Linked DNA regions of Homo sapiens: region 1 is linked to region 2. The links are contacts of gene promoters, found by promoter capture Hi-C in blood cells and fetal thymus (Javierre and others, 2016). All regions are on one chromosome and are shown on one strand. Each heading gives the region's core, a stretch centred on a gene start or on the middle of the fragment in contact. The rest is flanking DNA. Distances are from core to core; before and after follow the strand shown.

The links. The method cuts DNA at HindIII sites, captures the fragments that hold promoters and counts their contacts. A CHiCAGO score of 5 or more calls a contact.
Region 1: a contact is called between a fragment that was not itself captured here and the fragment with the promoter of IFNK in region 2, in 1 of 17 cell types (activated CD4 T cells). The highest score is 5.1, in activated CD4 T cells.

Annotation. Positions count from the first base shown.
Region 1 is chr9:26,980,023-26,983,884 of GRCh38, reverse strand. IFT74 (intraflagellar transport 74) reads right to left here. Exons shown (of 20, transcript NM_025103.4): 4 at 3,266-3,314. Among named protein-coding and RNA genes, the nearest start is that of LRRC19, 24 kb to the left of the region's middle. The HindIII fragment of the contact is 1,878 bases long and covers 1,624-3,501 here.
Region 2 is chr9:27,522,643-27,526,337 of GRCh38, reverse strand. IFNK (interferon kappa) reads right to left here and starts at 2,048. Exons shown (of 2, transcript NM_020124.3): 1 at 1,377-2,048; 2 at 1-331. The coding sequence starts at 2,001. The coding sequence ends at 1,378. The region is part of intron 1 of MOB3B (MOB kinase activator 3B); the gene reads left to right. The HindIII fragment of the contact is 1,828 bases long and covers 745-2,572 here.

The DNA of each region.
Region 1 (3,862 bases), core at 1,313-3,812, 540 kb after region 2:
TTAAATCTGGGAGGTGGAGACTGTAGTGAGCCAAGATCGTGCCACTACACTCCAGCCTGGGAGACAGAGGGAGACACCATCTCAGAAAAAAAAAAAAAAAAAAAAAAAGAATGAGGTATATCCCATCCTATTCTACTCAACTGATGAGAAACTGAGGAGAAACTGACATAGATTCATGAAGAAAGATGAAATAGAACCAGAATGAAAGCCTGGTCAAACTAGTACAAGCCACAGGCAGATGTAGGTGCTTAACTGTCATCATCACAGCTGCTACTACCCTCTAGAGCACAGTTTCTCAACAGTAGCACTAATGACATTTTGGGTCAGTGATTAGCACCTCGTGTTGAGCACTATCTTGTACACTGCAGGATGTTTACCAGCATCCTGGATCTGAGTATCAGTAGCACTTCCTCCAACCTCACTTGTGACAACCAGAAACATGTATAGAAATTGCCAAATGTTCCCTGGGGGCAAAATCACCACCAGTTGAGAACCACTGCTCTAGAGCCAGACAATTACACAAATAGCTAGAACTATTCTTTGATGTGGAAGCACAAATCCTGGGGGAGAAAGGCAATGCAATCATTAGGAATAACTATATTTCCTTTCCTTCTTTTGATTAAAAAGTGGCTGAATGTCAGAGATACTAAACAACTGATGGCCTTACTATCTTTCTTACTACTCTTAGCTTTGAGAACAGATGGGGGGAAACCATACTTTTCTTTATTGCCTTCTAGGAGTTTGAGACTCAATAGGATCCAGGTAACTGAGAAATAAAAGAAAACAGGGCTTTCAGGGCATGATGGGAGGGTGGATTAAACAAAAGCGAAATAAAAGAGAAAGAAGATACAAATAATGTGCCAAAAAGAAAATGAAGTAAAATGGGAAGATGGAGATAGGACAGTAGAACAAGTAAGTGGGAAAATAGTAAGAATAAGAAAAAGTCATTGATTTAGAGATGCATCCCCAGAGACATATAACAAAAGTTTATGAGGCCGAGTGCGGCAGCTCACGCCTGTAATCCCAGCACTTTGAAAGGCATAGGCAGGTGCATTACCTGAGGTCAGGAGTTCAAGACTAGCCTGGCCAAAATGGTGAAACCCCCATCTCTACTAAAAATACAAAAATTAGGCCAGGTGCAGTGGCTCACACCTGTAATCCCAGCACTCTAAGAGGCCAAGGTGGGCAGATCACCTGAGGTTGGGAGTTCGAGACCAGCCTGACCAACATTGAGAAACCTCGTCTGAACTAAAAATACAAAATTAGCTGGGCATGGTGGTGCACACCTGTAATCCCAGCTACTCGGGAGGCTGAGGCAGGAGAATCACTTGAACCCGGGAGGCGGAGGTTGCGGTGCCAGAGATCAGGCCATTGCACTCCAGCCTGGGCAACAAGAGCAAAACTCTGTCTCAAAAAAAAAAAAAAAAAAAAAATACAAAAATTAGCCAAGTGTGGTGGCAGGCACCCGTAATCCCAGCTACTTGCAGATTACAGGCACGAGGCTGAGGCAAGAGAATCACTTGAATCCAGGCGGTGGAAGTTGCAGTGACGTGAGATCCCATCATTGCACTCCAGCTTGGGTGACAAGCAAAACTCCGTCTCAAAAAAAAAAGAAAAAAAGCTTATGAATTAATTAAAATTAGGCCACATTGGTAGCAACTGACCAAATACATACTTATGTAAAACTTACTGATTAATATAACATAAATAAGTATACATATTTTCCCTTTCTTATTAGATGTAGCTGGTAACATTTTAATGATATGAGTAACACGTTTCAGATTAATTACTGAAAAAAAACATAGAAGATTATTCTTGGCCAGGTGCGGTGGCTCAGCCTATAATTTCAGCACTTTGGGAGGCTGAGGCAGGTGCATCACCTGAGGTCAGGAGTTTAAGACCAGCCTGGCCAATATGGTGAAAGCCCACCTCTACTAAAAAATACAAAAATTAGCCAGGCATGGTGGCGCATACCTGCAGTCCCAGCTACTCACGAGGCTGAGGCAGGAGAATAGCTTAAACCCGGAAGGCAGGGGTTGCAGTGAGCTGAGATCACACCACTGCACTCCAGCCTGGGCGACAGAGTGAGACTCTATCTCAAAAAAAAAAAAAAAAATTATTCTTATCATTAGATGAAAAAAGTGAACTTTTAAAATGCTACAAGGGGTTGGGCGCGGTGGCTCATGCCTGTAATCCCAGCACTTTGGAAGGCCGAGATGGGCAGATCATTTGAGGTCAGGAGTTCGAGACAAGCCTGGCTGACATGGTGAAATGCCACCTCTACTAAAAACACACACACAAAATTAGGTGGGTGTGGTGGCAAACGCCTGTAATCCCAGCTACTTGGGAAGCTGATGCAGGAGAATTGCTTAAACCTGGGAGACAGAGGTTGCAGTCAACCGAGATCATGCCACTGCACTCCAGCCTGAGCCACAGAACAAGACTCTGTCTCAAAAAAAAAATGCTATGAGGCCAGGTGTGGTGGTAGCTTATGCCTATAATCCCAGCACTTTGGGAAGCTGAGGCAGGAGGATCACTTCAACCCAGGAGTTCAAGGTTGCAGTGAGCTGTGATCATGCCACTGCACTCCAGCCTGGGCAACAGAGTGAGACTCTGTCTCTAAAATATAAATAAAATAAAATAAGTTTGCTATGGTTTGAATGTTTGAGTCCCTCTGAAATTCATATCAAAACTTAATCTCTAATGCAATAGTATTAAGAGGTAGGGACTTTAAGAAGTAATCAGGACATGACGACTCTGCCCTCATGGATGGGATTAGTGCCTTAGAAAAGGGTTGAAGGAAACTAGCTCAGCACCTTTTGCCCTTCCACTCTTCTGCCATGAGGACACCTTGACGGCACTATCTGTGAGAAACAGGTGCCCACCAGACACTGAAGCTGCTGGCACCTTGATCTTGGACTTCTGCGTCTCCGGAACAGTAAGAAATAAATTCCTATAAGTTACCCAATCTCAGGTATTTTATTATAGCAGCACAAACAAACTGAGGGAAAATATAGCTCATGTACATGCAAATTCATAAAACTATAAATCTCAGACTAATTATACTATCACATTTATTTTACAGCATAGCCAAATTAACCAGAAATTGTTAGAATACAAAATAATTTTTAGAAATCAATAGATACCTAATTATCCTAATAAGTGCCTAGCTAAAACTTCATATTAAAGTTATATACTCTATTTTGACAGAAGGTACACAATATTTCGAGTAAAACATACGGATGAAAAGATATGTTTAACATACCTAAGAAGCCCAAGATAGTAAGATTTGTCTAAAATTTGCCTCTGGGGACCTAAAAAAAAATGTTTTAAGTGTTAGTGTTCAGTTCGAAATGCCACCAGAATAGCAAATCCAAAGCACAATCAGAATTACACTCCACAATTCTCAAGACAGTCTTCATGAATGCCCCAATGAATCAAGAAGAATCACTGAAACTGAAAAGAGAACTAATACCTTAGAATCACAACATAAGGGAAGCTTCAATTAAAACTACGAAGATGGGACTAGAGGTGGGGCTGTTAAAAGACAGTAGACTCTACAGAACAGGACGATGGAATGAAAATTGAGTCTAAGGGAATCTGGAACAGAGCTGTCCAGAGTAACTTTCTGCAGTGACAGAAATATTCTAAATTAACACTGTCCAATAAAGTGGACAGAGGGACTACAGAAGCACTTAAAATTTGGCTGGTGCTACTGGGGAACTAATTTAAATTTCTGACTACTGGCTGTCATACTGGACACTGCAGACATTACTCAATGTGAGAAAGTGACTATGATTTTTTATCATTTGTCTCAGAGACTTTTTAAGAAATGGTCTTACATTTCAGTAGAACTAAGAAA
Region 2 (3,695 bases), core at 799-3,298:
TTGCACTAACTCATTTTATTGTCTGATCCTTCTGCTGATAGCCTGCATATACCATGATCCACAATTTGTTCTTGTTCTTTTAAACATCTCTTCTAACTTCTTGGCTGAAATTTGCCTCACTTTTATCATAAGACTTTCTTTGGCTATAACATTTGGGCCCTGCGCTTGGAATAATCTTGAATCTGAACAGTTTGGCAGCATGCTGTTAGTGGCATGAGCAGGAAATGGCTTCCAAGGGCAGAACCAGGTACATTTCAGATATATTTCACCCTTTTTTGGTGCATTTGCGTAGCCACAATCTCTGTTAATTCTTGCTTGAAGGTAGATGATTCTGAAATGGGGTAGATAGAGGTGCGAGAGGAAGAGAAAATCCATGTCAGCTAGGTGGTGAATTAATATAGATGAAGGGCCGTGCTAGAAAAGTAAATAATCTAGGTAGTCTGGCTGCAAAGTAACTTTTAAAAAGATAAAAGATATTAAAGTATTATGTATTATTGGAATAGCTAGTTAAATTAACTCACAGAATGTAGTCTTCTAACTAGGAAAATCTAATGTAAAATTGTTCCATATTATGACTCTGGACATTTTATTTCAGGCACATGAAAAACAGTAAAAGACAGATTCTGTACCATACTTTTCCACAGCATTTTCCATGCCTTTAGATGTAGGAATCAAACAATATACATCAGGAATGAAGAGTGTGCTACATTAGAATCACAGACTCTCAAAGGTTAAATGAAAGCTTAATGGTCGTCTAATTCAACCATCCATCCAATTTCACTATGGATCTTCACTCTTAAAGTAATGAAATACTATTCCACAAGCATCAATTCAAACAAACCAAGCTGAGAAGGAAATGGGCCAGAAATGTCAACCTTTTTCCCCCCGAGCAGGAGGGGGAAAATGCAAGAGTATTGACTCTAGGGAGCATGTATAAGCTCTTTTAATGTGCTGAATTTTCATAGGATAAGCAACCTTGGCAGCAAAACAGTTAAGTCATTGAAATGTTACCATTTTGCAACATTCTCTGCTCCCTATCCTCTAGCCATTGTCTTGGTGAAGTCCACAGGTGGTATATATAGCAAAGCTCTTTCAAAATGGCCACAGAAAAGAGCAAGAGAGAATAGAAGAAGACGGAGAGGGAATCTTATTCCTTTAAAAATGTCTTAAAGACTTTCTAAGGAGACTCTTGGTCACCCTGAGGATGGTTGGCATTACCTCTCCTTAGAGAGGTGAGTGTCCCTGATGTTCCGAGGCTACCAGTCCAACTGAGGACAGGCTTACAGGACAGCACAACAATCCTTAAAAAGAAGTTGGAGGAGGAGAAGGAGAAAGAGATTTCGGAGGGAAAAGGAATTTTAATTCCAAAAATATACCTTATTTCCTCCTGAATAGAGCTGTAAATTTGTAAAAGTAATACAAACATCTTCTGATTTCCACTCGGACAATCTCCCAGGCACAGTCACTGTATTTCTTTTCTTTCAGGAAATTGTCTATCCTGTGGAAATATCTCCTCAGTTCCAGGCTGCTCAGCTGGGGGACCCTGGCTTCTGAGGGTTTCATCTCATTCTCTTTCATTTCTTTCATGTCTTCATTTTCATTCTTGTCTTCCTCCAAGCATTGGTTCAGGTACTCTGCTTGCTGATCAAGTCCTATTTGGATTTGTTTGAGGTGTCTCTCTTTCCAATATTTGAAGGTGTGTTGGCTGAAGATGTTGAAGGCCTGTAGGGACATTTCATAGAAGGCCTTCTTGATGTCCCTCTTCATAGGTTGGGTGTATTGCAGAAACTCTTGGGGCAACTCAAAAGCTATGTTTTCTCGTAGACATTCTACAGGAAATGAATTGCTCATACTACTCAGATGTCTCAGATTTTGCCAGGTGACTCTTCTCAGGTGAACGTTCAGTAAGTTACAGTCCAGGGATAGGGTGCCAGCAATGAATATACCCATAAGGATCTCAAGCCACAAACACTTTTGAATCATATCAGGTTTGGTGCTCATTTTTTTTGCAAGCTAAAAAATCCAGAAGATGTGTATATGACAATGATGTTTTGAGTTTTCCTTCATGTGCCTTTATATACCTGAATATCTTCAGCAGGAGGAGTTTTCTCATTCGTCATTTCACAGTTAACCAAGGTTGCGGCCCCTTTCCTTTGCCTCTGAGGCTTTTTTTTTTTTTTTTTTTTTACTTCGGGTGACTATGCCGACTTTGGAAGTGATAACTTTTTTTTTTCCCTGAAAAATGAGCAAAGAATTACCATCGTGTTACCTTAAATGCCTGGATGATCCATCCCAGCACTAAGGAATCATCATAACAAGACTGATGCAGGGTATTTCAGAAAGCCAAAAGCTGTGAGTCCATGCACTCACTCACTCACTCACTCACCCAAATCTATTACATAAGAGGGAGTGATCCTTCATGAAAATATATTTTTTGTACCTGGTGCTATAGCCAAACATCCTGTCTCATTGAGTTAATCATAGACATTGACCAAATGACTGTGATTATTTGATTGCTAGGTCACCAGAGCACAGTATAGTTTAGGTTTTTCCAATTTTGTTAAATTAAGCTTCTATATTTGGATATTTTCTCTTTTTGATTTTTCTGGATCTCCAAAAAGATGAAGAATAGAGCTGGCACTTACTAAGTAGGAGACTAAGTTGGCTTGGTTTTCTGTTGCATTAGAAAATGTTGATAATCTCTAAATATCCTTTTCTTCAGTTAAATCCATCCTGGACTTAGCCTTCCATATGCCTCTGATACCTTTCTTAAAAGTCCTGGAGGGGGTTTTATATTTGAGAATATCTTTCTGCCTCATTAACTTCTCTCTTGTAGTATCATTTTCTTTTCTTTTCTTTTCTTTTTTTTTTTTGGTGCAGTTTAGGCAGTATTTTTAAACTTTTGCTTGATTGCTTGATTATTATATCTTCTTGCCTGGTGGTTCTGGATTCTGTAAAGGCTTTTGTTTGCTCCTGTGTTTGTTGTGCACTGAGGAGGTATGTGAGTAGGAAGTCACCCATTTAGCTAAGTGAATTCCTAGCTGGACCAATGTTACTGTGGTAATGATGGCTATCTATTGTTTATGGTTTTTACTTTGTTTGACCAAATAACCTTCCTCTGATTATGGTTAAAGCAAATGGATTCTTTTCTCCAGGAAAATAAAATGGATTGTCATTTTAAAAAGGTAGCTTATTATATCTTCTCAAGAAAAAAAAGATATACATTAATTTGCAATTAAGTCATTGTAAAATGGTAAATAGCCACAGTTCCACAAACATGGCAGACTTTGATTGAAAAGTTGGCTTAAAAAGTTCTTGTCTAAATCAGTTGACTGCACCAAAGGCTAATTGTGGGTAAGTGGGATTTCTTAAAATCCTGGCTTTTAGGAAAGGTTTCTTACGGAAAAAAATATATATATATATATTATTCTATTTGTTCCATCTACATAAATTCTTATTTCATGGGCAGATTTCTTGGGCTGACCAAATTTGGAAAACATTAAGAAAACAAGCCCTTTTATATAGCGTTATAAATTGACACAACCTTCCTAGAGAGGAAAGTGGTGATATGGATCAAAAGCCTTAAAAATGTACATAATATTTGACTCAGCGATTGATCCTCTAGGAACTGATTCCCCAGAAATAATGATGATGCCCTTAAAGACTTAGCTGTAAGGAAGTTTGTCACAGCAAAA